4 separate regions of the Homo sapiens genome follow, and regions 1, 2 and 4 are each linked to region 3. The links are contacts of gene promoters, found by promoter capture Hi-C in human tissues and cell types (Jung and others, 2019). All regions are on one chromosome and are shown on one strand. The core of a region is centred on a gene start or on the middle of the fragment in contact, and the rest is flanking DNA. Distances in the headings are between cores, read along the strand shown. Region 1 overlaps SPPL3 (signal peptide peptidase like 3). Region 2 overlaps SPPL3 (signal peptide peptidase like 3). Region 3 holds the start of MSI1 (musashi RNA binding protein 1). Region 4 holds the start of LOC124903035 (a long non-coding RNA gene).

The links. Contacts are between HindIII fragments. The study calls those that stand out against the background at their distance.
Region 1: a contact is called between a fragment that was not itself captured here and the fragment with the promoter of MSI1 in region 3, in 4 of the 25 tissues and cell types used here (dorsolateral prefrontal cortex, lymphoblastoid cells, pancreas and 1 more).
Region 2: a fragment that was not itself captured here is called in contact with the fragment with the promoter of MSI1 in region 3 in 1 of the 25 tissues and cell types used here (spleen).
Region 4: a fragment that was not itself captured here is called in contact with the fragment with the promoter of MSI1 in region 3 in 1 of the 25 tissues and cell types used here (dorsolateral prefrontal cortex).

What each region holds. Positions count from the first base shown.
Region 1 is chr12:120,850,150-120,856,990 of GRCh38, forward strand. All of the region lies in intron 1 of SPPL3 (signal peptide peptidase like 3), which reads right to left. Among named protein-coding and RNA genes, the nearest start is that of SPPL3, 51 kb to the right of the region's middle. The HindIII fragment of the contact is 8,131 bases long and covers 40-6,841 here.
Region 2 is chr12:120,761,645-120,768,205 of GRCh38, forward strand. It overlaps SPPL3 (signal peptide peptidase like 3), which reads right to left. Exons shown (of 11, transcript NM_139015.5): 9 at 5,750-5,949; 10 at 4,619-4,728; 11 at 866-3,426. The coding sequence ends at 3,355. Among named protein-coding and RNA genes, the nearest start is that of ACADS, 39 kb to the left of the region's middle. RefSeq lists a silencer at 1,454-1,617. The HindIII fragment of the contact is 7,096 bases long and covers 1-6,561 here.
Region 3 is chr12:120,367,731-120,375,060 of GRCh38, forward strand. MSI1 (musashi RNA binding protein 1) reads right to left here and starts at 1,434. Exons shown (of 15, transcript NM_002442.4): 1 at 1,303-1,434; 2 at 1,103-1,143; 3 at 462-543; 4 at 278-362. The coding sequence starts at 1,361. It also overlaps the pseudogene RPS27P25. The HindIII fragment of the contact is 19,353 bases long and covers 1-3,742 here.
Region 4 is chr12:120,699,988-120,707,083 of GRCh38, forward strand. It overlaps MLEC (malectin), which reads left to right. Exons shown (of 5, transcript NM_014730.4): 5 at 1-1,872. LOC124903035 (a long non-coding RNA gene) reads right to left here and starts at 6,513. Exons shown (of 2, transcript XR_007063489.1): 1 at 2,726-6,513; 2 at 1,824-2,057. The HindIII fragment of the contact is 5,890 bases long and covers 1-4,879 here.

The DNA.
Region 1 (6,841 bases), core at 2,855-5,354, 490 kb after region 3:
ATGGTTGGTAAAAGGTAACTCTAGGGGCTGCCAAGGGAACTCAGTTCCAAAAACCCTTCCCATAAAATTAGGCTTTCCAGAGACACACATCTTAGATGTTCCAGAGGTTTATGAGTCCTCTCTGTTGCCCCTTTCAAATCTAAATACTTCCTCAAAGTCTCTAGAGCCATCTGTTAAGGCCAAAGTAAATCTCAACATGTCTACACCACAGAAGTTTATGCCGCATTGTAAGGAAGTCTAAAAGGCCAAATGAATGCACAGCTACTTGGGAGGCTGAGGTGGGAGGACTGCTTGAGCCCAAGAGTTCAAGACCAGCCTGGACAACATAGTGAGACCAGCCTTTAAAAAAAAAAAAAAAAAAAAACAAAAGCCAAATGCTGCTATTCTGGATTTCATACTGTGAAAAAGAATGAAAGAATGTTAGGTTTTTTGACAGTGGACGTTAGGGTTTTTCAAACACTTTCCCTTTTTAAATGTGAGTAACATCCTATATTAGTTTCCTACTGCTGCTGTAGAAATTACCACAAATACTGACTTTACACAAGCTTATTCTCATAGTTGCGGAGGTCATGAATCTGACATCGGTTTTATAGGGCTGGTTCCCTGTGAGGGCTCTGAGGGAAGAATGTGTCCTTGCCTTTTTCATCTTCTAGAGGACCACCTGCATTCCTTGGCTCACATTCCCTTCATCGATCACTACAACCTCTTGTTTCCATCGTCAAATCTGCTACCACTCACTCTGGTGTGCCCACCTCTTCCAAGGACCTGTGTGATTATATTGGGCCAACACAGATAATCCAGGATAATCTCATCTCAAAAATATTAATTTGATGCCATCTGCAAAGTCTCCTTTCCTATATTCATAGGTTCTAGAGATTAGGACATGGACATGTTTTAGGGGTCATTATTCAGCCTACCACACAATTACCAGATTTAAAATTCTATGAAGTATACTTACCTACAGTATCTCGTTTAGATACTTACCAGGTGTTATCATTCCTAATGAATGAGAACGCGAGTCTAGAAACTTCATTGCTTAGCCACAGTGATATAGTCAAAAAACTAGAACTCAAACTAGAGCATATGGCCCTAGAGACCATGTAGCAGCAGCACATACCACTTCTCCTCCACCAGGCTGCCTGTAAATCACTGGCCTTTGGCCTCTCATTTTCTCATACAGTTTTTTTTTAAAATCATACTCATAGTCCAAACTGCAATCTACCAAAAAAAGTAGCCCACATCAGAGATTCCTCAAATGTTCTCAGGTCATGGCTCCCTTAAAATCTCAGTCATTTTTTTTTTTGTGGCATACCTGAGGCCAAAAGAAATGCCTAATAGCTCTGTTCAGTCGAAGCAGTATTTGTGTCCTAATAGCTCAGGAGCTTCTGGGCACTCCACCACTTCTCAAATCTTAGAATCAGATGGGACACTGCCACTCTCGTTTCCTGTTTCACATTCTTTTTTGTTTTTTTGAGACAGGGTTTCACTCTGTCACCCAGGCAGGAGTGCAGTGGCGCAAACACGACTGACTGGAGCCTTGACCTCCCCGGGTCAGGTGATACTCCCAGCTCATCCTCCTGAGTAGCTGGGACTACAGGTGAGCGCTACCACACCTGGCTAATTTTTGCATTTTTTGTAGAGACAGGGTTTCACCACATTGCCTAGGCTGGACTTGAACTCCTGGGCTCAAGCGATCTGCCCGCCTCAGCCTCCCAAAGTGCTGGGATTACAGGCGTGAGCCACCGTACCTGGCCCGTTTCACACTGATTTTCAAACAGTACTGCTTTTATTTCACAGCAATGGCCAAAATCCCAGCTTTGCAAAGATATGGCATCATCAAAAGGAATTTAGTGATTTAATGCTGAATTGTGAACTACCTTAAGCTATTAGTTTGTATGATATCTAACAGATGTCATTGTGTTTCACTGAAGGTTAAAAATACTCTGTGATACCCACGAGTTTGAACCTGCAGGCCTGCGCTCCTCACATTACTGCTTGTACACTCCTGCTCTGACGAAAGTGTGCTCTCTGTTATGCAAAGTGCATAGCTGAAGCTCCATATAATGGGCTCAGACAAATAATTTAGGAAACTCCCAGTTTGTCATCGCACATAGTTACATGCCAATTTGACATTTTCTATTAAAGATATATATCTTTATTATATTTATATAATCATATATATTAATTTATATATACATATTTTACATATATGAAATATATGTATATATAATATACATATTTTACATATATGAAATATATGCATATATAATATACATATTTTACATATGAAATATATGTATATATAATATACATATTTTACATATATGAAATATATGCATATATAATATACATATTTTACATATATGAAATATATGCATATATAATATACATATTTTACATATATGAAATATATGCATATATAATATACATATTTTACATATATGAAATATATGCATATATAATATACATATTTTACATATATGAAATATATGCATATATAATATACATATTTTACATATATGAAATATATGCATATATAATATACATATTTTACATATATGAAATATATTTTATATATAATATACATATAATATATTTCATATATTATATCTATGTATATTATATATAAAATATATTTCATATATCATATATACATATATGAAATATATATTTCATATAATATATACATATGATATATGAAATACATATTTCATATAATATATACATATCATATATATTTCATATATATATATATATTTTTTAAGATGGATTTTCACTCTTGTCGCCCAGGCTGGAGTGCAGTGGTGCATTCTCGGCTTACTGCAACCTCCACCTCTTGGGTTCAAGCGATTCTCCTGCCTCAGCCTCCCGAGTAGCTGGGATTACAGGCACCCGCCACCATGCCTGGCTAATTTTTTTGTATTTTTAGTGGAGACAGGGTTTGACTGTGTTGGCCAGGCTGGTCTTGAACTCCTGACCTCAGGTGATCCGCCCGCCTCAGCCTCCCAAAGTGCTGGGATTACAGGCATGAGCCACTACGCCCGGCCTAAAGATATATTCTTTACCATCATCTTATCTGCTCATCCACTTTTTTTCCTAAGGCAAGCAAATGAAGGAAAATGTATATGGTAAATATTTGATTTCTAAGTCTACAGAACTATATTATATTACATCTACAAGCAGAGAATTCCTGTTAGACAAATAAAGTACACTGACATTTTTATCTGCCCAAAGGAATTGCACTTACTCATTCAAATGTCACATGGACAAACATCTGACACCAAACGTAAAATTTTTTCCTTAGTAACTTCTAAAAATGTACACAATAGTAGCAAAACAAGAAGCTGTAACAAACCATAGTATTCCTAATTCTTTTGATATAAATTTTAGACTAAGAAGAAGATATGATGCACACCAAAGCACATGGAAAGGAAGTTTCAGCATTTGTTCAAAATGATTAAATTCATGGATCTTCTAGACCAGTGATTCTCAAAGCTGATGGTGTATCCAAATCACCTGGAGGACTTGTTAAAACACAGATCGCTGTACCTACCCCAGAGTTTCTGGTTCAGCAGATCTGGGGCAGAGCCAAGCATTCATAAATTTCTAAAAAGTTCCCAGGCAATACAGATGCTACTACTAGTCCAAAGACCATACCTTAAAAATCAGTTTTAGATAAAATTCACATTTTCATAGCAATTCAGAAAAACTACTGAATATATTATGAAAGCAAGTGAGATGAATTTGTATTTGGAATAGCAAAAAACAACAACAAAACCCAAACCCAAAACCACATGAAAACAAACACCACCACCACCACACACACGCACACATACACACACACACACACACACACACACACACACACACACACACGGGGAAAAAAAAGGCCAGAGGGAGAAGAAAACCCCACAGTGACAGTCAGTTCCCCAAACAGGATAAACCTAGCTACTCAAACTGAATTACTCATGACTGTGCAAGTTATCAATGTACCCTTTACTGACGGCTCTTCAAGGAGTAAATGTAAGAACACATGTGGCAGCCTCCTGTGAGGTGGGCAGAGGAAACTGACCCAAGGAAATCAGAAAAGCCAAGGGTTTACCATGAAGCACCTAAAAAATTCTCCACATTCAGTGGGAGGTAAACATGGTCCACCCCTAAAACAATTTTAGAATGCTCAAGAAACTGTTTTGGTGATAAGTGTTGAATTATATGTATCTATATACATACTCTAGTAGTCTGATGCTAAGTAAATCTAGTCTTGCCAACATACAATGGAGAAGTAAGCAAGCCAACAGCACAGGTCTTTTTTCTTTTTAAGTCATGGCAGCTATGTGCTGTGTGACCACCTTCCTTTTGCAACAGCTACACCTATAAATCACTAAAACAATAATTGATGAACAAGAGCCTGAGGTGCTATCAAAGCCAAATACATGTTAAATTATATATTCTGTATATTTTATTAAGGCAAGAAACCATTTTAATAATACTAAAAAGATTTTCAAAAAGACTCAAGCAAAAATGACTGTCAATTGGGTCTAAAATTCAGTCAGCCTGAATGCCCCAAAGTCTAAGGAAGCATCATGAAGTTACAAACCTTTCCAAAGGTCAACAAGAAGAAGCTAACTTCCTATTATTCCTACTCCTTTTAAATAACAGTCATTACCAAGTGTTTCCAAAGCGGGGCATTTGTTTTGTTATAATCAAAACCTGCTCAACTGAGGAAAAACAGTGCAATGAAAATATTCTTATATTTATGACATTCAAGATCACTATTTGGACCAAAGAACACGCCAGGATTTTTATAGCACCTGCATGTAACTGTTTCATGATGACCCTCCACAAGGGGCAGGGAAGGGACAGGGAAGGAAGAAGCATGCAGGGCTTTCCTGACCCTACTTCTAGTGTGTAGGAAAGAGGAGAGGGAACTCATTATCCCTCCAGCCACCGTTTCTTCTCCTTGTATGGATGGATCACTAGACCCCACAGAGTGCAAGAATGACGAGAGAAGGGGACTATCAGTGATTAATCCTTGTACTAATAACTTATAAAGTACATCCCCTCAGTATAACAGATTCCATATAGCACAAAAAATGAACAGAAATAATAGTTTCCTGGCATTTTCCAACTACCCAATTAGAAACTGACAAATGTATAAAAAACAATTTTTGTCAAGTAAATCATAGGCCCTGGCTATTTAGCACTATGACCTCAAAGCTTAATTTTCAAATAAAATGACTGGTCTCAAGAAAAACAGGCCAGGCGCTGTGGCTCAGGCCTGTAATCCTAGCACTTTGGGAGGCCGAGGCAGGCAGGTCACATGAGGTCACGAGTTCAAGACCAGCCTGGCCAACATGGTGAAACCCCGTATCTACTAAAATACAAAAACTGGCCAGGCATGACGGCAGTTGCCTGTAATCCCAGCTACTTGGGAGGCTGAGACGGGAGAATCGCTTGAACCCGGGAGATGGTGGTTACAGTGAGCTGAGATCGTGCCACTGCACCACTGCACTCCAGCCTGGGCAGCTGAGCAAGACTCCATCTCAAAAAAAAAAAAGAAAAGAAAAGAAAAACAGTACTTCAGAAATGTGTTCAGTACTTTTTCTGGCAGTAAAACAACCTTTTTGTTTCTCCTACACAGAGAAATTATTTCACTCATGCAAATGAATGGGGGTGTACTTGAAGCCCCAGAGCCACATGGGGTGGTCTCATTGTCAGATTCTGTGGCTGTTCACCATGAACATGCTTTCTGGAATGCACCTGAGAAAATCTCAAGACTAAATGCAATTCTGAAAAGGCCCAGGGAGTGAATCGTGATTAATGTAAGCCAGCACTGTTCAACAGAACTCTGTGATCATGAAAACATTCTAGTAATATTACAGCACTGTCCAATCAGGTAGCCACTAGCCACATGGGACTACTGAGCACTTGAAATGCAGTGAGTGCAACTAAGGAACTTAATCTGTAGTTGTACTTAATTTTAATGAACTTAAATTTAAATAGCCCCATGTGGCCAGTGGCTACCTTGCTGGACAGCACAAACCTAAATGCAGATTCCAGTCCCCTTGTGGCTTAGGCTTATGATGCAATTCTGGCCAATGAGACAGAAGGAAAAGATTTCCCTTAATCTGAAAGAAAAAAAAAAAAGAAACACAAAGAAGAGAAGGTTCTTTTTTTGTGGTCTTGAGGATGTGATGTCTCGGAAATGTTGCAGTTGTCCTGCAAACAGCAGCGCAGCAAGCCTAGAGGTGAGGTTAACATGCTGGAGGGCAGAGCAGAAGAATACACAGAACATGAACCCTTGCTACTCACTGAGCCCCCTGGCCACTGGTGTGGAGATGAACAATTTTCATCTTTTTTTTTTTTTTTTTTTTTTTTGAGACAGAGCGAGACTCCGTCTCAAAAAACGAAAATAAAAATTTAACTATGGGACAAGATTCTGGAACGACGGCAGCATTCAGGGCATAGTTGGTTTGAATCCTCCTGAATTTTCCCATAAAAACAGATTGAGCAATCTGGATGCAAAACTGAAAATCTGCACCTACAACAAAGCTAAGTGATCAGGTAGCCTCACAAAACCCAAAAGACAAGCAGATGGGGACAAACTACTGACTGCTAAAGACTGGTGTGCAATTGCCATCTGTGTGAGAAGCAGCAAAGGGAAGCAACAGGGTATTTGATGAATCTGAAATTAGGAAAACCCCAAATGAGACAACAGGTACTGGCAAGCAAGGTGAGCTGAACTAGGAATAGCAGTTGAACTTTAAAGGAGCTCTGTACATTCCAACTTATGGCCTGTACAAGGGGATGGAGTGATAGGGACCCTCTAAACTAAAAGCTA
Region 2 (6,561 bases), core at 1,941-4,440, 400 kb after region 3:
GATGTCCCTAAGGCATGTACTCCCATGTATAGACACGAGTGCTGCATTCCCAGGCTCTGACGTAAACGCTAGGCTTTACAAAACAGAAACGTACACACAACATGGGATCTGGTGAGCAGTAACGTGAGAGCTGCTAAGCAGACACAGCAGGTTCTATTTTTAACACTTGATTGGCAAAATGGAACTCCCTTCCCCTCCACCCTCACAGAGAACGAGTACTTTTGTTTTTCTTGTGGGTGACCTAACTTACCTGTTTACCCAAGGCCTGTGAGCCTGCTACAAAAGTAATTCAGACAGTAGCTTAGTCCCAAGCCACCGAACCGTTCCTATGCGGGGAGCTGTCACTGTCACATTCAGAAAGCGTATGCACTGTAATAACAGCAATGGAACACACTAGGCTTTGGACAGACTTTACTGTCATATCTTCATTAGCTCAAACTAGAAAAAAGAGTTATTAAAAAGCGGGAGTTCTAGTAACACACAGTCTCTTTGTGAGGAAAAAGGACTTCAGATCAGTGAGGAAGGAATCTGCTGAAATTTCATGAGCATGCCATGCCTAATGCAGCAGACTTCCTAGAAAACCCCTAAACCATGGTATTTGAGAAAACAGAATAAGAGGCGGACCTAAGTGTATCAGGCAGCGGGGAGCAAACGAGCACTGGAAGGGAAGTCTAATGTGTGCTTTAACTGCAGCCACCCACTCAACCCTCCGAGACGAGTAGAGTATTTGCTGTTTCTCTGCCAAAGTTTTAAGGGAGTGTTTTAAGGGCTTTGAAGATTAGCAACTGGAATCCAGGGTGCATTCACAGCCCTGTGTGGGTATTTCCCCCCAAAACCTGCACAGAAGTGAGAATGACAAAATAACGACGTTCCTTCTGTCTGGAATTTAATTTTCTTATGAAAACAAAGACAGAAAAATTAAAATGACCCACTGCCAGGATAACATTTCCTTTTTTTTTTTTTTTTTGAGATGGAGTCTCACCCTGTCGCCCAGACTTGAGTGCAGTGGCGCAATCTCTGCTCACTGCAACCTCCGCCTTCCAGGTTCAAGCGATTCTTCTGCCTCAGCCTCCCAAATAGCTGGGATTACAGGCGCCTGCCACCATGCCCAGCTAATTTTTGTGTTTTTAGTAGAGACGGGGTTTCACCATGTTGGCCAGGCTGGTCTCGAGCTCCCAACCTTGTGATCCACCTGCCTCGGCCTCCCAAAGTGCTGGGATTACAGGCATGAAGGATAACGTTATTTCTACCCATCACTGGCACTTGCCCTTAATCCGAGTCATTTTGGAGCCCCCCTCTCTGTCTCTGGGCCTGCTTAATTAGCTATATGCATCCTCGAGGGCTGAGAAGGAAGGAAGGGAGAGTCCGCAAGTGGATTTTTAGTCTTCACCCAATGCAGAGGCAGTTTTGAGTTCTGTGGACAGCAGAAGCTTCAGTTCTTTGATGTATCTATGACTGGGCCAGAGCTGCAGATGACCAGGTCTGGGGACAGACAGAGTCTTCCCATCAGTCTTCCAGAACAGGGAGGAGATGGCTGGGAGCTCTGTTTGGTACCAACAACCAAAGTGAAGATTATGTGACAAAGGCTACAAAGGAGTCATTTATTAAAAACAAAACCCCAGAAACCCCTCAGCAGGAATTGATGACAACAACAGAGGAATCCAACACCCTGACTGCTTCAGACTCTGTTGACAACAGGATGGGTGCCCCCTGTGAGCTCGATCCACAGTGACTTCAAGCCACAGTGACACAGCACACTAATTCATTACACAGGTCAAGACAGAGGCAGCCACTGGGGCGGGGACCCTTGGGGAGAGGCTGGAACTCAGGGCCCTTCTCCAGCCTTTGTTGTCAGGCATCCTCATGCCAACCGCAGGCTTCTCTTTGCCTCTGAACAATGGGCACCTTCTTACCAGGCAGGGGCTGCTTAGGTAAAGGTCAGCAGACCTAACACTAGTTACTCCCAGAAATCTGGGCTTGCAGCAGAGACCACAGCACAGGGCCAGGCTCTCAGGACACAGCAGCTGGTTCTTTCCCCAGTTACTGGAATTTAGGGCCCATCTCAGAGGGGCATTTGACATGTGTCCCCAACACCCGGTTGTCACCACAGGTAAACCAAGACTATAATCACAACAGCAAGGACAGGATTGTGTTGCTTTTTTCCTTTTTTTTTTTCTTAAAGGAGTGAGGGCATGGAAAATATACAGCACACCAATGAAACAAAATGTCAAAAAAAAAAATACAAAAAAATAGAAAATAGAAAAATGTATTTACAAGTAGTACGTTACTATGATGAGAAAGCACAAAGACACCTGCTGCTATAATACATGCATTGGCTCGAGAAGAAACTACGGAACACCCTGCGAGGGAGAAGCCTAGAAAAGAAAGAAAGGGCCAAAAGGTTTGAACTCTTCATCCCTAATTTGCTACACTGATCAAAACCAAGTAAGGGCTCCTGAAGTCCATGAGTCTATCATCAATCAGCACAAATGCTATACTAGTTTGTAACTGCGGGGTCAGTTGTGAAGGGGAAGGACAGCAGCTTATCCATATACAAGGAAGCCACAGTAAACTGCTCGACATGCTCAAAACGACAGCAAGCCCCTGTCAGCTACACAGCGTGATCTTAGCAGGATTTCATTTTTGTTTATTCATATATATCTATGTGTGTGTTTATATATATATATGTACGTATGTATAAAAACCGTGCCCTTGTTCACTGCCAACACAACATCTGGGTGGACATGAACTCATTACAACAAATTCTTATGTGGATGTTGTAAGAAGTCACTCAATGTCTGTGGATTTAATAAGTCACTTCACACCACAGAAAATATTTAATAAATCCAAAAAAAGGAAAGAAGAATATAACGACAGAAGAGCTTCTGTCTCAGTTCTCTGAAACTGAGTCCCCTATAGGAAACTGGTCCCAAAGTTCTCGAGGGGTCATTGAAGAAACTTCGGTTTGCTAATTTTTTTCATCCTTTTAGTGTTCAAAAGTTCTAGAAAGACTCCTCGCTGTTTTCAGTTTTTAAACAGTCAAATCTCCATCTCCCCCAGAAGGTAACAGTCTGGTGCAGATCCATAAAAACGTGGGAGGAAGGCGCGCTGGGGAGAGGCCTGTCCCTCTTGGAAGGGGCCCCACCTCTACATCCGCAGGAAGAGAAGGAACCAAACAGGGCTCCAGCACCTCTCTCCTGCAAACGAGCTCCCTTTAAATGCCAAATCCAGTCACACGGCAGTTCCTTAAACACAGGTACATTTCTGAGTACCAGGCCAGCTCTAAGAGGAAACAAACCATGAGTTGAGAGAAAAGGACTATGACGGCCATCTGGTCACTTTCCACGTGATCCATCATACTTCCAGGAATCGGGAGCTGCTGGACTTGGAGTGGAAAGGCTCAGACCACATCCGCCGGAGGTCGCCCTGGGAAACAAGGGACTTTCTAAGTTACAGATTTAAACATGAGGCACACACAGCTGTCTGATTCTTTAAAAAAAAAAAATTTTTTTTCCAGGTATGAAGTCTTCCTATATATTGGCCAGGCTGGTCTCAAACTCCTGGGCTCGGGCAATTCTCCTGCCTCGACCTTCCAAAGTGCTAGGATTACAGGCATGAGCTGCTGCGCTTGGCCCCTTTCTGATATTTTTTTTTTTTGAGATGGGTTCTCACTCTGTCACCTAGGCTGGAGTGAGTGCAGTGGCGAGATCTCAGCTCACTGCAACCTCCGACTCCTGGGTTCAAGCGATTCTCTTGCCTCAGCTTCCTGAGTAGCTGGGATTACAGGCACTCACCACCATGCCCAGTTCATTTTTGTGTTTTTAGTAGAGACAGGGTTTCACCATATTGGCCAGGCTGGTCCTGAACTCTTAACCCGCCTGCCTCAGCCTCCCAAGGTGCGGGGGTTACAGGCGTGAGCCACCATGCCCCTGGCCCCTTTCTGATGCTTGATCTGAGATCAGATTGCTTCTGTGGGAAACCAAAGAGCATTTAAATCTTACCCATTCAAAAATAACCCACTATTTTTAGGAGGACTCCCTAGAAGGGGTGCTTTTAGGCTCCCTGAGCAAGAAAAGGGCTTTTATCAACTCTCTAGAGGTAGTGAGTCAAGTGAGCTGGGCAAGTAAGTTGACCTCTGTATCTGCTTCCTCATCTGTAAAACGGGGCTGAGAATAGATATCTGGGAAATAATGTGCTCTTGAACTCTGGTTTTATCATATGCTGCCTCAACACTATTCAATCTTAATTATTCCCAAACTTTAACGTAGTGTTAAGCTGTTAGGTGGCAGGAGGGCACTGCTTTGAACAGAAGCAGGAAGTACCCTCAGCTGGGCTCTGGGGCTTTCAATTAGTTATTCCTCGACCAGGTGGTGTAGTGGTCTAGCTCATCAGCATTTTCTGTCAGTGGCTGCACGAATCTGGAAGCGTTTGCTAACGCCAGGGTAGCGCGCGCGCGCACACACACACACACACACACACACACACACACACACACACAGTCGAGATCACAAGCTCACTCAGGGGCTTAAGCAGAATCACCTCCAGCGAGGAGAGTGCAAACCGAGGCACAGGCCAATCCAAGTTATTGCTTTCACAGGTTTATAACTGCTGCTCTCACCTTTAAATAGGCCATCGTGAGGAGTGGCAATAAAGTAAATGGCACCAAATAGAGAAGGGCGGGCTGGGCGGCCCGGTGAATGCGAGACGCCACAGTAGCAGTGAGCAGGCCTGTGAGGAGAGAGAGGCATCTGTGAGACACGAGAGGGAACCCGTGTCACCTGGCTGCTGCTGGGCAAAGTCCTGCAACTGTACAGATCTAATGTGCTGTCGTCCATTCTATGGTTGGGGTGTGAAATGCCCAGCTTGGGCAGTTGAAGAAATGTGGATCAGCACAGCTTTAAAAAACACCTACAACTCCAAGGACACATGACTGACCCAAGTCTCACTCCTTGCTCAGGTTCCTGGGTTCAAACCCTCCTTCCAGCTCCAAGTGTGCCTCTGTCTCCTGTGATGCTGGACTTGGGAGGCAGAAGACCTGGGTTCAAGTTCCAACTCTGCTACTCACAATAGCTAACATAAATGTAGTTCAGACCTTCCACCTCTCTGAGCCTCAGCTTGCTCATCTGTCTAATGGGGATAATGCCACTTGCCTTGCCCCTCTGAGTTTGTGGACTGAAATGAACCCATGTGAATGAACTGCTGTGGGACGAGGACAGTGCTGGGGTTGAGGAGGACGTACGGAGTGCAAAAGCTCCTTTCCAGTCACTGTGCGGGAGCAGTTGCATGTGCGGGCAGGTTACTGCTTTTCCCAGCCCCATCACAATCATCTCCTGTCTGCCTACACATGAGCTGGCTACAAAACTTGGCCTAGGTCAGAGTGGCAGAAATGTAGAACTAATGAATGTAAGTAAGTATCTATTGAATAAAGTAGGAAATAAATACGACAGTCATTCAACTCTAGAGGAAGATTTAAGCACAGACTAATCCACTGCACTGTGTGCTGTGTGTCCTTGGCTTTGAGGACTGACCTGCTTTTCCTACAACGTTCTTCAGATACACAGCTGGAGAGGGAACTGGCCTATCCAGTACACAAAACACTTAGCATCTCACGGGCCAGGCTGTCTATTACAGCACCCAGAATTCCTGCTCTCCTTCCATCCAGTAACTGTAGCTAGAAGACCTGATTTAATTCCAAAGGTTGGAGGACAGCCAGAGCGAGGATCATCTGCAGTCTCTCTGGTTCTCTTACCTACAAAGTATCCGATGAGGGTGCAGTGAAAGTAGGAGACCTTCTGCATGCGCCCGGAGATGTTGGCAGGTCCAGGGGCCCCACAGGAGTCCCCACTGGCTTGCTTTTTGTAGTTGTCATAGCGAAGGACAAAGCATAGTAGGAGACCAGGCATAACGATGTCTCCGATGCCCAACATGGAGAAGTGGCTGCCAGTGGAGCTGGAATGCAGTTTCACAGGTTAGTGACGTCACACTCTACAATCCAGTTTCTATTCCTTTTGTGCAAAGTTTGTTAGCTTTTTAAGGAGTCAAAGAGCTTATCTGCATGGCAGATGGAAATCTCTTCTGATGGAACATTAGTTTTAAGAGTGTAGAGAGAAAAAGCTGCAACAGTACTGGCACTAGAGGTCTCCACCTTGGCCCCCCTGTTTCAGGAGAGCCCCTTGGAAGTGACTGCTGAAGTGATTTGCATAAGTGCTGCTTCCTCTAGAAATGTCAAACAATTCATCATTTGTGACACATTCACTGTTGAGACTTCAAATAAGCACCTGGCTACTATTACAGGTGGAAGATTAAAGCAGCACATTCATTCTGCCAAGATTATATTACCAGGAGTTGTATAATTCTACCATTAGAACTTATTTTTATAAATATCTTACAAGTTAAAAGGATCGAGATTCTCCTAACTCCCTCCAGCCAACTCTAAACAGTGGAAACAGCAGTAAGGCATGGCTGTTTGCTGACATTAATCAATAATAAAAGGCACCGCCTGGATCACTCAGTGATCCTTCTTGGCAAGCCAAGAATCTCATCCTCATTTCCTCTTCTGCA
Region 3 (7,330 bases), core at 184-2,683:
TGATTAGTACTTCTAGGGAGAGGGTGGCGGCTGCCTCTCCCCTCACCAGGACTAGGGGAGGGGGGATGTAGCATCTCATGGCAGGCCAGGGATTTTTCTCCTCCCTCTCCCCCCCAACTCTAGTGACAAAGTTTCAGAGCATGGCAGCCCTCTTACTCAGAAAAACTCCCTCCTTCCTCATGGACCCCGTCCAGCTGTCCCCTGGGGAGAGTCCTGACCCTCTCCTCCGGCAGCCTCCCTCTCCCAAAGGACCCCCGAAGCCCCGAGGGCCACTCACTGTTTTGGAGTCGAGCTCGTGCCGCGATTGCGCCAGCACTTTATCCACCCCCGCCTGGTCCATGAAAGTGACGAAGCCGAAACCCCTGCGCGCCGTAGTGAGGGAGAGGCAGATGGTTACAAGGCAGTGAGTGGCGGGTGGAGGGGGGCGAGCCGGGAGCAGGAGGAGGGGGTGAGGGGCTCACCTGGATCTCTTGGTCAGGGGGTCCCGCATCACCAGACACTCCTTCACCTCCCCGAACTGGCCGAAGTATTCGCGCAGCCCTTCTGTAACCACACACCCGCCTTCGGACCAGCCCGGGCCCCGCGCCCTTCCCCCCCCCCCGTCCTTTGCCCCCGGTGACCCCGGAGCGGCCCGGCCGCCCCCGCGCCAAGCTGCCCGCGCGTTCTCCACTGCCGCCGCCCCCCACCGCCCTCGCCCCGTTCCCGCTGAGCCTCCTGGCGCCCACCGGGGCCCCGGGAAGCCGAGGGCCGAGCTGGGCTGGAAGGGGGACGGCTCCGGCCGGGTTCCCGCCGCTCCGGGAGCAGCCTCACAAAAGTTTGAGCCGCAGGTGCGAGCGGAGTTGGCGCTGCCGCCGGCGGGTCCCGGGGGCCCAGCCCACCCCCCGATACCCCCTGAACCCCTCATCTGCTCCCCTCCACCCGCTGGGCCGGGTGCGCTCGCGGATCGCCCTGCGCTCTCGGGGTCTCCGGGCGGGGCGCGAAAGAGGGCGCGAGGGCGCCCGGGGTCAGCAGGGCGCAGGGCCGGGCTGGGGTGTCCGGGTCCGGGGCGCCGGGGGGTCCGGGGTGCCCTGCCGGACCGGCGGGCGCTCCCGGGCTCGCTCACCCTGCGTAGTCTGCCAACTGAGTCCCCCGATGAACATCTTGCTGCGGGAGGAGGAGAGACACAAAGGGCCCGCGTGAGCGCCGGGCGCCAGGGCGCAGGGGGCGCGGGCCCGGGCTCCGGGGAGGCCCGGCCGGACCCGGATCGGCCATGTTGGCGGGGCCGGGGCGGGCGCGGGCCAAGCAGGCCGGGCCGGGCCGTACCAGGGGTCGTGCGGCGAGTCCGGGGAGGCGAGGCCGGGCTGGGGCGCGTCAGTCTCCATCGGGAGCCGCGGGCGGCGCGGGCAGCGGAGCGGCGGCGGCGGCGGCGGCGGCGGCGCTCGGCGCGGGGCAGATGAGGAGCGCGGCGAAGGGGGCCGGACGGACAGGCCATGCTGCCCCCTCCCCCGACCCCGCTCGGGCGGGCGGGCGGGGACGGCCGAGGGGAGGGCCCGCCGGGGGCCGACCTGCCGGCTCCTCCCCCCGCCGCCCTGCGCGCATAAAGCCCCGCGCTCGCCCGCGAGCCCGGGCGCCCGCGGAGGCGGCGGCGCCGGGACCCCCTTCCCGCGGGGCTCCTGGGTCTCCGGGGCCGAGCGAGACCCCCGAATCCCGGTGCGGGCCGGGACCAGGGCGCGGCCGCACCCCCCACCCACCCCGGCGCGGGGGCCCGGCCGCGGGAACGCCCTCCCGGAATGAAGCGCTTCCCGGTGCCTTCAAGGTAGCTCGGTTCCGGATCGGGAACCCCCCCGGTCTTCCCTCTCAGGTCCCTGCTGTCCAGAATTGAAGAGAACCCCAATCTCCTCGGGTCGGGCGGGAGATAGCCCTAGTGCTCCCCAGTCCCCACATGCTCCATTTCCCCAGTCGGAGCGAGAAGCCGCCCTCAGAGCCCCCAGTTTCCTCCCAACCTAATTTACAGCCCCCCACCCCCACCCCAGGGCTCTAATTTAGAGCCCTCGCTCCGTTCCCAGGATCCCATATCCAGTTTGGGGGACCCACTCAGTGCCTCGCGTCCCGAGTGGGGAACCTCCATCAGCACCCCAGTAGAAACCGTATCCTCTTCCCCAATCCGTCCTCAGCCCTTGGTGTCCAAAGTGAGAGTCCCCCTTAGTTTCCCCAAATCCCTGCCGTCCACATTAGTGGACCCTATGGTCTGTTGAGAAAATCCCGCGCCCCAAGCCCGGGTTCTCAGTTTGCCGCCACCCCCACCTCCCGGTGTGAGGAGTCTCCCCTGGTTCTCTCCCTCCCTGGCCGGTTTTTGTGAGATCCATTCAGACTCCTGTCCTGATTCGGGAAACCCGGTTCCAGACACTCACCACCCCCACCACACCGAGGCTGGAGGAAAAGGCAGTGCCTCTTAGAGCCTCCTGTTTCCAGTTTAGGAGCCCAACGCCTCAGCTGTGCACCGTCCCCTCCGAATGACCCCCTTCTTTTGCAGAGGTCTAAGCTCCACCCCATCCCATTGGAAGAGCCTAAACTACCTACCCACTGCATTTGGAATGACTTCCCTCAGTCCCTCTTATTTTGAGGCTACTCCCCGTGAAGGCAAACACCTTCCTTTCTACCCCCATCTTCTGGGTCTCTGGGATCCCCCAGTACTTGCACCCAAGGCTCCTTGGAGTCACCTTACGTACCCCTAAAATTCCCTCCCTCCAGCCTGGGAACAACCCTGAGAAAGTATTCTGGTTCACCAGGGGAGCTGCGGGGCCACTCTCCTTATCCCCACCTCTCCTTATCCCCGCCTCTCCATATCCCCACCTCTCCATATTCCCACCTCTCCATATCCAAGCCTTAGGACCCTTCACTTCCCCAGCTGAAACCAGCCAAAAAAGGATCAAACCAGGAAGCTTAGGTGGCCAACACCCCTTCTCCCCATCCCTGCTGGGGGTCTCAGTGCCACACAAGCCCCTCCCTCCCAACTCACCTTCTACTCCTTCCCCCATCCCTACCTTAATCCATCCGGTGTAATCCAGTGACAACCCATGTTGACAAGCCCTTTGCTGTTCACCTTCACATTCCATCCTGAATTCAACACCTTTTATTCCTGGGCATCATAACTCTGACCTCTGGAAGGGTGCCCATCCCCCTCTTGATAGCCCTCCTTCCCTCTCCCCACCCCAACCATCAGGCAGAGAAGAAAGTGAGAGACTTACAGTAATGGTTTCCTTGGGGACCTTCTGGGAATGCTCAGCAGGTATATCCTGCCACCCTGTGAGCATAACACTAGAAACAAACTTGCTTTTTCCTGTTTGTGTCCCCTACTCTGCCCCACAGTTTCTCAGCATCCCCTGGACTGGGGACTGGAGGGCCACCCACACAAGGCATTTCTTACCATTCCGACACAAAAGCATTCCAGTTTGTGTTGTAGCAGAGACACAGATGAGGGTGAGCAGGTAGCCTCTGCGGTATTAGGGAGGTGACTCTTCTTAGGTCTGAACTTAAAAAGGGTCATTGGAGAGGTGCGGGGAGTAGGGATCTTCCAGTGTTCCTGGACTTTGGTTTGTGTGCTGGTGCTGCTGGGCAGATGAGCTTGAAGGATAGGAAATGGGTCCTTTCCGGCAGTGGCGACCTACCCACGAGAACATGCCTCTCGACAGGGATCTCCTTCATCCTTCTCCAGAAGAGAAGAGGAAACAGAAGAAGAAACGCCTGGTGCAGAGTCCCGATTCCTACTTCATGGATATGACATGCCCAGGATGCTATAAAATCACCATGGTCTGTAGCCATGCACAAACGGTAGTTTTGTGTGTTGCCTGCTCCACTGTTCTCTGCCAGCCTACAGGAGGAAAAGGAAGGCTACAGAAGGATGTTCCTTCAGGAGGAAGCAGCACCCAAAGCACTCTGAATCAAGATGAGTGGGAAACCATCTCAATAAACACATTTTGGATTAAAAAAAAAAAAGGAAATGGGTAAAGGCATCTGTTCAGAGTCAGCCAATGCTGTGTAAGAAGTAGCTTGAGATAGGATCCATGTATTAGCATATTCATTCAGAATCTGAGGAGGAAGCGTCTACCTCTTTTGGTCAGTAGCTTGTTTGTATCACAGTAACATGGGTTAGACTTAGACAAATCCTCTTTCAGTGCAGGTGTATCTCAGCTGCAGCAGCTTCAGTCCACTTTGTTCACAATAGGGGCGACAAGCCCTTCTAGAGGTAGCCCTCACAGGACAATGCAGTTGTAAACTCATGATCCTCATAGTAAATTGAGGATCTCAGTGGTATTAAGGAAAAATGATCTTTAGAGCAACAGGCCCAGACTTCAGAATTAAGAGATTAGAGGATGTGGTTCCAGCTCTTTTTCTCTGGTACTACACACACAGAACATCACTCAAAGAATAAAAGAAGAATTTGCTTTATAGTTTTTAAAAAATCCTCTTGAGAAAGACAGTGGGCAAATGATATTATGCAACTTGGCACAGGTATTTACCGAACATCTTCTATGTACTAGACACTGTCCTAGGTGTTGTAGTCCCAGCAGCTGCCTTTGTAAAGCTTGCATTCTAGAGATGAGAGTCATACAAGTAAATGAATGAATGAATGAGTCAATGAATGAATGAGTGAATGAATGAATAAACAATAGATAAATAAATGGTGTGTTCAGTTAGATGTTGTAGGTGCCACAGAGAAGGAAGGGTGATAGGGAGGGTGGGTACTATTGGGAAGAAGGTGAGATGAAATTTTATATATATATATATTTTTGAGATGGAGTCTTGCTCTGTCACCCAGGCTGCAGTGCAGTGGCATGATCTCGGCTCACTGCAATCTCTGCCTCTTGGATTCAAGTGATTCTCCTGCCTCAGCCTCCCCAGTAGCTGGGGTTACAGGCATCCACCATCACTCCTGACTAATTTTTTGTATTTTTAGTAGAGATGGGGTTTCGCCGTGTTGGCCAGGCTGGTCTTGAACGCCTGACCTCAGGTGATCTGCCCACCTCTGCCCTTGAAAGTGTTGGGATTACAGGCGTGAGCCACCACACCTGGCCTGAGATGCAATTTTAAATCAACAACATTCTCATGGGGAGGGAGACGTTTTAGCAAAGACTTGAAGGAGATGAGGTAAATGAGTCTACTCTATGATACAGAACTCTCATTTAAGCAGAATGTCTGCATCTCTTAAGTACAATGATAATTAACGTTCATATTTTGACTTTCACTACTCTAAAACTGTAGGTCAAGTGGACTAGGGGTGGATGGGGGCTCAGAAAATGGCAGTTTTTGAACAGACACCTCTATCAGATGAGAAGGCTGAGAGCTGAGGGTTTTCCTTGGCCACTCTTGGAGAAACACAGCTTTAAGATATATTGAAGAGCCTTTGAGAATGACAACAACAAAATTAAAGATTAAATTATAGTCCATGTGGTTTTAGCGTGCAGAGTATTTCACAGTGTTCTCATTCTTTGAAAATGCAATATTGGCCGGGCGCAGTGATTCACGCCTGTAATCCCAGCACTTTGGGAGGCCGAGGTGGGTAGATCACGAGGTCAGGAGTTCGAGACCACCTGGCCAACATGGTGAAACCCGGTCTCTACTAAAAATACAAAAATTAGCCTGGCGTGGTGGCGCACGCCTGTAATCCCAGCTACTGGGGAGACTGAGGCAGGAGAATTGCTTGAACTCAGGAGACGGAGGTTGAAGTGAGCTAAGATTGCACCACTGCACTCCAGCCTGGGTGACAGAATGAGACTCCGTCTCAGAAAAAAAAAGAACAAAAGAAAATGCAATATCCAAGCAAAGCCCTGAATTACCTGGAACTTCCCATTTCTTGTCCATGCAAGACAAGGAAAAATTTACTGTAAGCTGATTAAGAGCCATGCATTTATAATCAGCCCATTTTACAAACTTCCCCCACTTAAAAAAATATATATATATACCTATATATATATACTTTATTTTTTCTTTCTTTTTTTGAGGCAGGGTCTCACTCTGTTGCCCAGGCTGGAGCGCGGTGGCACGATGAGGGTTCACTGTAGCCTCAACCTCCTGGGCTCAAGCAGTCTTCCCAATGCAGCCTCCCAAATAGCTGGGACTACACATGCACGCCACCATGCCCAGCTAATTTTTGTTTCGTTTTGTTTTGCAGAACGGGGTCTAACTATGTTGCCCAGGCTGGTCTCAAGCTCCTGCACTCAAGCAATCCTCTGCCACCACGGCCTCCCAAAGTGCTGGGATTACAAATATAAGCCACTATGCCCAGCCTAAAAAGTAGACTTTATTTTTATTGAGGAGAAAGTACAGAGATTTCCCCATACCGCCTGACCCCACATGTGTGTAACCTTTCCCACTGTCAACATCCCCCACCAGAGTGGTACATTTGTTACAATTGGTGAACCTATACTGACACATTGTTATCACCCAGAGTCCATAGTTTAGAGTTCACTCTTGGTTTTATACATTCTATGGGTTTGGGCAAATGTATAAGGACATGTATCTCCCATTATACTGTCATACAGAGTAGTTTCACTGTCCTAAACATTCTCTGTGCTCCACCTATTTGTTCTCCCCTCCCCCAACCCCTGACAACCCCTGATCTTTCACTCTCCATAGTTTTCTCTTTTCAAGAATGTCATATAGGCCGGACGCGGTGGCTCACGCCTGTAATCCCAGTACTTTGGGAGGCCGAGGCAGGCGGATCACGAGGTCAGGAGATCGAGCCCATCCTGGCTAACATGATGAAACCCCGTCTCTACTAAAAATACAAAAAATTAGCTGGGCATGGTAGCGGGCGCTTTTAGTTCCAGCTACTCGGGAGGCTGAGGCAGGAGAATGGCGTGAACCCAGGAGGCAGAGCTTGCAGTGAGCCAAGATCGCCCCGTTGCGCTCCAGCCTGGGCAACAGAGCAAGACTTCGTCTCAAAAAAAAAAGAACGTCGTATAGCTTGAATCATACAGTAGTAGCTGTTTCAGATTGGCTTCTTTCACTTAGTAACACACAGTTAAGATTCCTCTATGGTGGCTTTTTTTGTGTGTGGGTTTTATTTTTTTGTTTCCTGGGTTTTTTTGCTCGTTTGTTTCGTTTGTTTGTTTGTTTGTTTGAGACAAGGTTTCACTCTGTCGCCCAGGCTAGAGTGCAGTGGCATGTTCAGGCTCACTGCAGCCTCAACCTCTCAGGCTCAAGCAATCCTCCCACCTCAGCCTCCCCAACAGCTGGGACTACAGAATAGCTGGGACTACAGGCACACACCACCGCCCCTGGCTAATTTTTGTATTTTTTGTAGAGACAGGGTTGCACCATGTTGCCCAGGCTGGTCTGGAACTCCTAG
Region 4 (7,096 bases), core at 685-3,184, 330 kb after region 3:
TCCTGGAAAGGCCTGGATATGGTTTCTAAAATCTCAGCTGAGAACTTCAGAAAACAGCAGCAGTATTTTCCTTTTCCTAGTGCTAAAATCCCTTTCCCTAGAAATTGGCTCACCTTGGGAAACCCAGGGAAAGAATCAGCAGGTTCTCTGCCCTCCCTAGGGGTTGGGGAAGGACCCACCCCGGTCAGCACAGTGCCTTTTCCTCTCCTGCTCTGAGCCAGGGTGGGGCATTCCCTCTAGATTCAGGTTTGGGCAGGGGTCCTATAGTCCCTGCCATGGGGCTGCTTCCCTGTCCCTTCCCTCCCCTTTGCTGGCCTACTCTGGCATAATTCAAGTGTCTTCTTGCCTTGGGGATCCTTAGTGGCATCAAATGGCAACATGGAATATTGTCCTCCATGCCCCTCCAGAAGGACCTAGGAGAGTAGGTGAGCTTTCCAAAGTGAGAGACGAATCTTTCTTTCTTTTTTTTTTTAAAGGGCAGGATGGGTATGCTTTGGGCTTTCTCCTTCTGTGGCCCCGGAGGAAGGAGAGACTGAGGCAAGGCAAAGTGATAGTACACGGAAGCAGAACCGGAAACACCCAGGAACTGTTCAGAAATCTCAGAAGAAATCTGCTTCTCTTCGATGGAAAGATATAATTAACGATCAAAGAGCTCTAAGAAAATTGCAAAGAAGCCTTAATGTTCAAGCTTTAGAAAGATCAGAGCAATTTTTCTCTTTCAGTCCAAACTAAGACTCTCTGTATTTAAATCTCTCTGGGGCAAGAGGGCTAGATTTCCTCATTTTGTTATGAGACTAGATTGGTACCAGTAGATCAGCTGCCTAGCGAGGGCAGGTTTCTTCTTTGCATCTGTGTGGCTTGCTTCCAGTCTGGCCTGTCCTTTCCAGCTGCCTTTTGTCTAGCCTGCTATGGGGGGCCAGATTATCTTGATAAGAGCAGGTGATTTGGGGACTAGCTGGGTTGGCAGGAAAAGAGCAGGATGGATCTCTTGGGACAGGTTCCCCCAGGAGTATAAACACAAGGAGCCAGGATTGTGCTGGCAGCCAAGGAAACAGTAGTGCCTGTTTGAGTTGGCAGAGAGGGCCTTGGCACCTCTTGCATCCAGGCAGTCTTGTGAGATGGGGGCACATAGCACTGGGGAAAGCAGAACTCCATTCTCACCTCTATTTTGAGCTTCAGTGCTTTATTTCAGTATGAGGAAAAACAACAACAAACTGAAGTGCGCTTTCCGTCCTTTCAAAGGACAACTGTCGGGAAGGGAGAGCCGAGTTGCGAGGTAGGAGGGGAGCACTGGCAGGGAGAGACATTCTTGACTCCTCTCTTCCCTGGTGTGTTGTGATCCAGGGAATGAAAAGAAATTTGACCCTGGATTGGTTCTCTCCTTGGACTTAAGGAATCTTACCTTTTCCTTCCACAAAGTTCTCCCAGGCAAGGACCAGCTGCCCATTCTGAGCCCAGGGCAGCCTCTTCAACCATTATTGGTCTAACCTGGCTTGTCAGGAAACCAAGCCCACCCTTCCACATTGGGCCTGGCTGCTCTATTCTGTACCAAGTACTGGAGAAAAAGCATCAAGTTCTTAGCCCTTGTAGCTTCTACCCTAGTTTCCCATCCTCTCTCTGTGGAGGCCAAACCAACTCTTTGCCAGCAGCCACAACATGCATTGACAGCGGCACAGTGAGATATAACTGATGGGCTTTGAACCTGGTTGGCCGGGGAAGCTGTAGGGGTGGATAGAGCTGGCTTTCCTTCTGGGCTGTCTCCATCTGACCCTACCCCTTCCATGTCCCACCCCACTCCCACCAAAAAGTACAAAATCAGGATGTTTTTCACTGTCCATTGCTTTGTGTTTTAATAAACAATTTGCAGTGACACTCTGTGTTGGGACTGAGTTCGAACTTGATCTCAAAGCGCTGAAGTGATGGGGTGGGAAAAAGGAGACCCAGGGGTTCACTTGGCTCCAAAGAGTTCTCCTGTGACGAGGCTGGGAACTGTTGTCCATTTAGCTGTGTGTCTTTTGCTTTTCTTCTCTCTGGGATGTTTGCTTAGGGGAATCATTCTGTAAAACCCTTCCTGGTCATTTCAACTAGCAGCGCATTTAAGGACAAAAAATTTGTTTTCACTTTCACTGGAACAACTAGGCACAGACTGTCCCACTCTTAAGGCACACTGGGCCTATTGCTGCCTCTCCTCACCATTCCCTTAGCCTCTGTGATAGCCCACGGACAAGCTAAGCTAACCTAAGCCATAGGAGATTTTTCTCTGCTTGCTCCTTTTCTGGTGTTTTGTCATTGTTGATTACACATTAGGAAGAGCAGAATGCAGGAGGGATTTTTTTTCCTATAATTTATAAGCCACGTTTTACAGGTGAGGATCGTTGAGCCAGGCATGGTGGCTTAACGCCTGTTATCCTAGCACTTTGGGAGGCTGAGGCCAGCAGATTGCTTGAGCCCAGGAGTTCAAGACCAGCCTGGGCAACATGGCGAAACCCTGTCTCTACTAAAAATACAAAAATTAGCCAGGCATGGTGGTGCATGCCTGTAGTCGCAGCTACTTAGGAGGCTGAGGTGGGAGGATTACTTGAGCCCAGGAGGTCAGTGCTGCAGTGAGCTGAGATTTCGCCATTGCACTCCAGCCTGGGTGACCCAGACACAGACACACACACACAGACACACACATACACACACACACACAAACACTGAAGCTCAAAAAAGTTCAGTAACATACCCCAGACTAATGTAGTAAATGGTCTGGTCAAGCCAGGGTTCAAATTCAGTCTGTTTGCCATCAAAGCCCCAAGCTCTTTAAAGCTGTAAAGATAATTACAGCTGTCCATTACTGAGTCCTTGAAATGGGCTGGGCACAATGCCCAGCATTTTCCACATGTTATCTCTCTTTTATCTTCAACAAACCAGTTGCTATTCCCCTTTAAGAGATGAAGTGACTTGCACAAGGTAGCACAACCAACAAAAGGCGGAGCTGGGGTTTTAAACCAGGACTCCTGCTCTCCATCATTACCCTCTGCTGCCATCCATTTCTTCATGGTGCTGGGTGGCATGGCTCCAGAGCCTACCTGCGGGATTTCTCCGAGTGGGAATGGAGACTGCTGGCTTGCAGGGGTAGGGAGGGGTGGAGGTGGAGGAACAGGAGTTTGGCCTACCTCCCTCAGTTATCCCTTGAAGGGCAGAATTCAGTGTGCAGCCCCAAGAGTGAGGCCATTGTTGATGGAGTCTGTTCTCAGGGCCCAAACAAGCCAGGAGGCCCACAGAGCCTCTTTCTTAGGCTGAGCCCACCCATAACTGGAGTTCTTTCCTAATTCAGATTTCGTTGTTACTATTTCAAGTAGCTTTGCATGAGCTGCCAAATGGGGAAGAGACCTGAAGAACTCCTGCTCTAGGGAGTTACAGGGAGGGAAATTGTCTGACAGAAGATCTTGGGCCAAGTACCGGGGTTGGGTTGGACCACTCTGTGGGTCCAGATCTTAATCTTACTAAGGAAATCAGGCTCCCGGTTGGCTGGAGCCGGTGAGACCTTTCTCCATACTTAGTACCCCCCATCCCCCATAAAGGAAGAGAGATGAGTTTTTCTAGTACTTACTGGAAAGCTCATTGCTATCGCAGTGGTGAGGGGTCAAGGCAGAAAGGAGGCGGAGCATGGAGGTCCTGGAGCGGGCTTGCCTCTGCTCTCCAACAACCTAAGGCCACAAGCACCTCGCTGCAGCACCCTGGCCCAAGAGTCTCAGTTTTGTTTGTTCCTAACCACTTAACATTAGTACGAAATAACTCCACTTGCTTTGTCACTGCACTCTCTCACCTGGATCCATGGCTTCTCCCTGCCCCATGCGCCTGCCCTGTGTGCCTGCCCTCAACAGAGGGGGCGTGGAGAAAGAGGCCACTTGTGTATATTGTCATAGTGACCATTCATGGGACACTCTTCCTGGCACCAGTACAGTGCTTTTTCTTGCCGTTTTGTGTCTCTTCATAACAATCCTAGGAAAGACCTGTGACTAGCCTGACTTATAAATGAAGGCACAAAGGCCTCAGGAGAGAAACGACCTGGCCAGAGTCACATAGCTGGTAATTGGCAGAGCAAAGACTGGAACCCAATGCTGTTTGACCCCAAAATCTGTGCTTTTAGTGCCATGATATACTAGTTTTAAAGAGGAACCTTTGAGTATTGATAACTGATGAATCTATGATTACATGGAGGTTTTATTATTTCTCTGAAAAAGTAACTTTTAAGACTTGGTGATATAAAGATCTATAAATATATACAGAAATAAATTCTTAAAAAAGTGTTAGGAGTGCAAAATGTGAAAAATCATTTTCTTTTCTTTTTCTTTTTTTTTTTCCTCTTTTTGAGGCCGGGTTTTGCTCTGTCACCCAGGCTGGTGTGCAGTGGCAAGATCTTGGCTCACTGCAGCCTTGACCTCCCAGGCTCAAGCGATCCTCCCACCTCAGCCTCCTGAGTAGCTGGGACTACTACAGTGTGCAGCCACCACACCCAGCTAATTTTTATACTTTTTGTAAAGACAGGATTTTGCCATGTTGCCCAGGCTGGTCTCAAACTCTTGGACTCAAGTGATCCGCCCACCTCGGCCTCCCAAAGTGCTGGGATCAGAGGTGTGAGCCACCATACCTGGCCTGAAAAATCATTTTCTTCCCTATCCCTCTAATCCCTAAAGGATAATACAGAGGACATTCTGGTGTGTATCTTTCATTTTAAATGTATTTACATATATATATGTGTATATATGTATTTATATATATGTAATATATATGTAAATGTATTTACATATATGTGTGTAAATGTATTTACATATATATGTATTTACATATATATATATATACACACACACACACACACAGAGTCTTTTTAAACAAGTGGGAATATACCATACATATCATTCTGTGCCATTTTTACTTAATATGTCTTAGAGAGGTAGTTCATATAGATGGGTCAGTACATAGAGATTTTCCTCACTCAAGGGCTGTACAGTATCTTATGGTTAGATTGTAATTGATTTTACCAATCCCCTGTAGATGAACATTAAGATACTGCTCATTTTTTGCCAGTACAAACTGCTGCAGTGAACATGCTTATGCATATATCTTTGTGCGTATGTGCAGGTGTTTCTTTAGGGAATTCCTTTAAGGAATTACTGGATCAAACAATATATGCATTTAAAAATTTGAAAGTACTGTCCTCCATGAGGCTATATGAATTTTTACTCACCAATCTTGTGCTGTGACTTTGGAATATGCCAGAAATCTCTTTTGGAAACAGGTAGGATATAAATAATAAATAATGCTTTTTAAAAACAGCCCTCTGGCTAAGCGCAGTAGCTCACACCTGTAATCCCAGCACTTTGGAAGGCTGAGGCAAGTGGATCACCTGAGGTCAGGAGTTCGAGATCAGCCTGGCCAACAAAGTGAAACCTCGTCTCTACTAAGAATATAAAATTAGCCAGGCGTGGTGGTGGGCACCTGTAATCCCAGCTACTTGGGAGGCTGAGGCTGGAGAATCACTTGAACATGGGAGGCAGAGGTTGCAGTGAGCCAAGATCATGCCGTTGCACTCCACCCTGGCAACAGAGCAAGACTCCTTCTTAAAAACAAACAAACAAACAAACAAACAAACAGCCCTCAGCCAGATAGTAGAGTGACTTGGTACTAAGGAAATTACTAGCTCTTAGTCCCAGACCACAAGCCATGCCTGCAATCCCAGCCATGATTTGCTAATTCAGTGCATGCCATCTGGGGAGGCAGCAGAAAGCAGGACTGAACTTTCAGTCTTGGCAGAAAAATGCCAGCTGATGATGTCTTGCTTACCTTGGTTACACCAGCTCTGGGCCCCACCTGCCTGGCCTGATTTGAAGGCAGACTGCCTGGCTACTCTGGGACTGCCCTGGAAAACAGCCACTCTCACACCTCTTACAGGGAGGAAAACAGCCAGCGGGAGAGAGTCAGCCCTGAGCTGGGGGGAAAGGAAGGCTGGCCCTCTGCTTTTGGTGTCAGGATTACTATTTAATGCAGTAGTCCTCTATTTTCCTTCTTCCCCCAAATAAAGTGTTAGTATATGTAATTTTCAAAAGACATTTTAAAAGAGCCTTTCCCCACACCTCAAAAAATTTGATGTGGAAAGGCAGATTGGCGGTTACACCCCTAATTTTTCCTACCCCTTTAAAAAATGAAATTATATATATTTCCTTCCCTTTCCCTTTCCTTCATTTCCTTCTTTCTTTTCTCGTTTCCTTCCTTTCCCCCCGTCCTTTCTTACAGTCTCACTCTCACCCCTCGAACTTCTGGCCTCAAGCAATCCTCTGGCTTTGGCCTCCCAAAGTGTTGGTATTACACGCATGAGCCACTGTGCCCAGCCAGTCTATTCCTTTTAACCAAAATTCATAGGTAGTGCCCAGAGAGAGTACAAGCTCTGACTCATATGGCAGTATTTACTTAAAAAAAAAAAAAAATGCCAGGCATGGTGGCTCACGCCTGTAATCCCAGCACTTTGGGAGGCTGAGGCAGGCGGATCGCCTGAGGTCAGTTCAAGGCCAGCCTGACCAACATGGTGAAACCCCATCTCTACTAAAAATACAAAAATTAGCTAGGTATGGTGGTGGGCACCTGTAATCCCAGCTACTTGGGAGGCTGAGGCAGGAGAATCGCTTGAACCTGGGAGGCGGAGGTTGCAGTGAGCCAAGATTGTGCCACTGTACTCCAGCCTGGGCGACAGAATGAGACTCTGTCTCAAAAAAAAGAATAATAAAAATAAAAAATAAAGTAAAATAAAAAAACAGGCCAGGCACAGTGGCTTACGCATGTAATCCCAACACTTTGGGAGGCTGAGGCAGGTGGATCACAAGTTCAGAAGATCGAGACCAGCCTGTCCAACGTGGTGAAACCCCGTCTCTACTAAAAATACAAAAATTAGCTGGGCATGGTGGCGCGTGCCTGTGTTCTCAGCTACTTGGGAGGCGGAGGCAGGAGAATCGCTTGAACCCAGGAGGCAGAGGTTGCAGTGAGCCGAGATTGTGCCACTGCACTCCAGCCTGGGTGACAGAGCGAGACCCGTCAGAAAAAAAAAAAAAAAAATTAA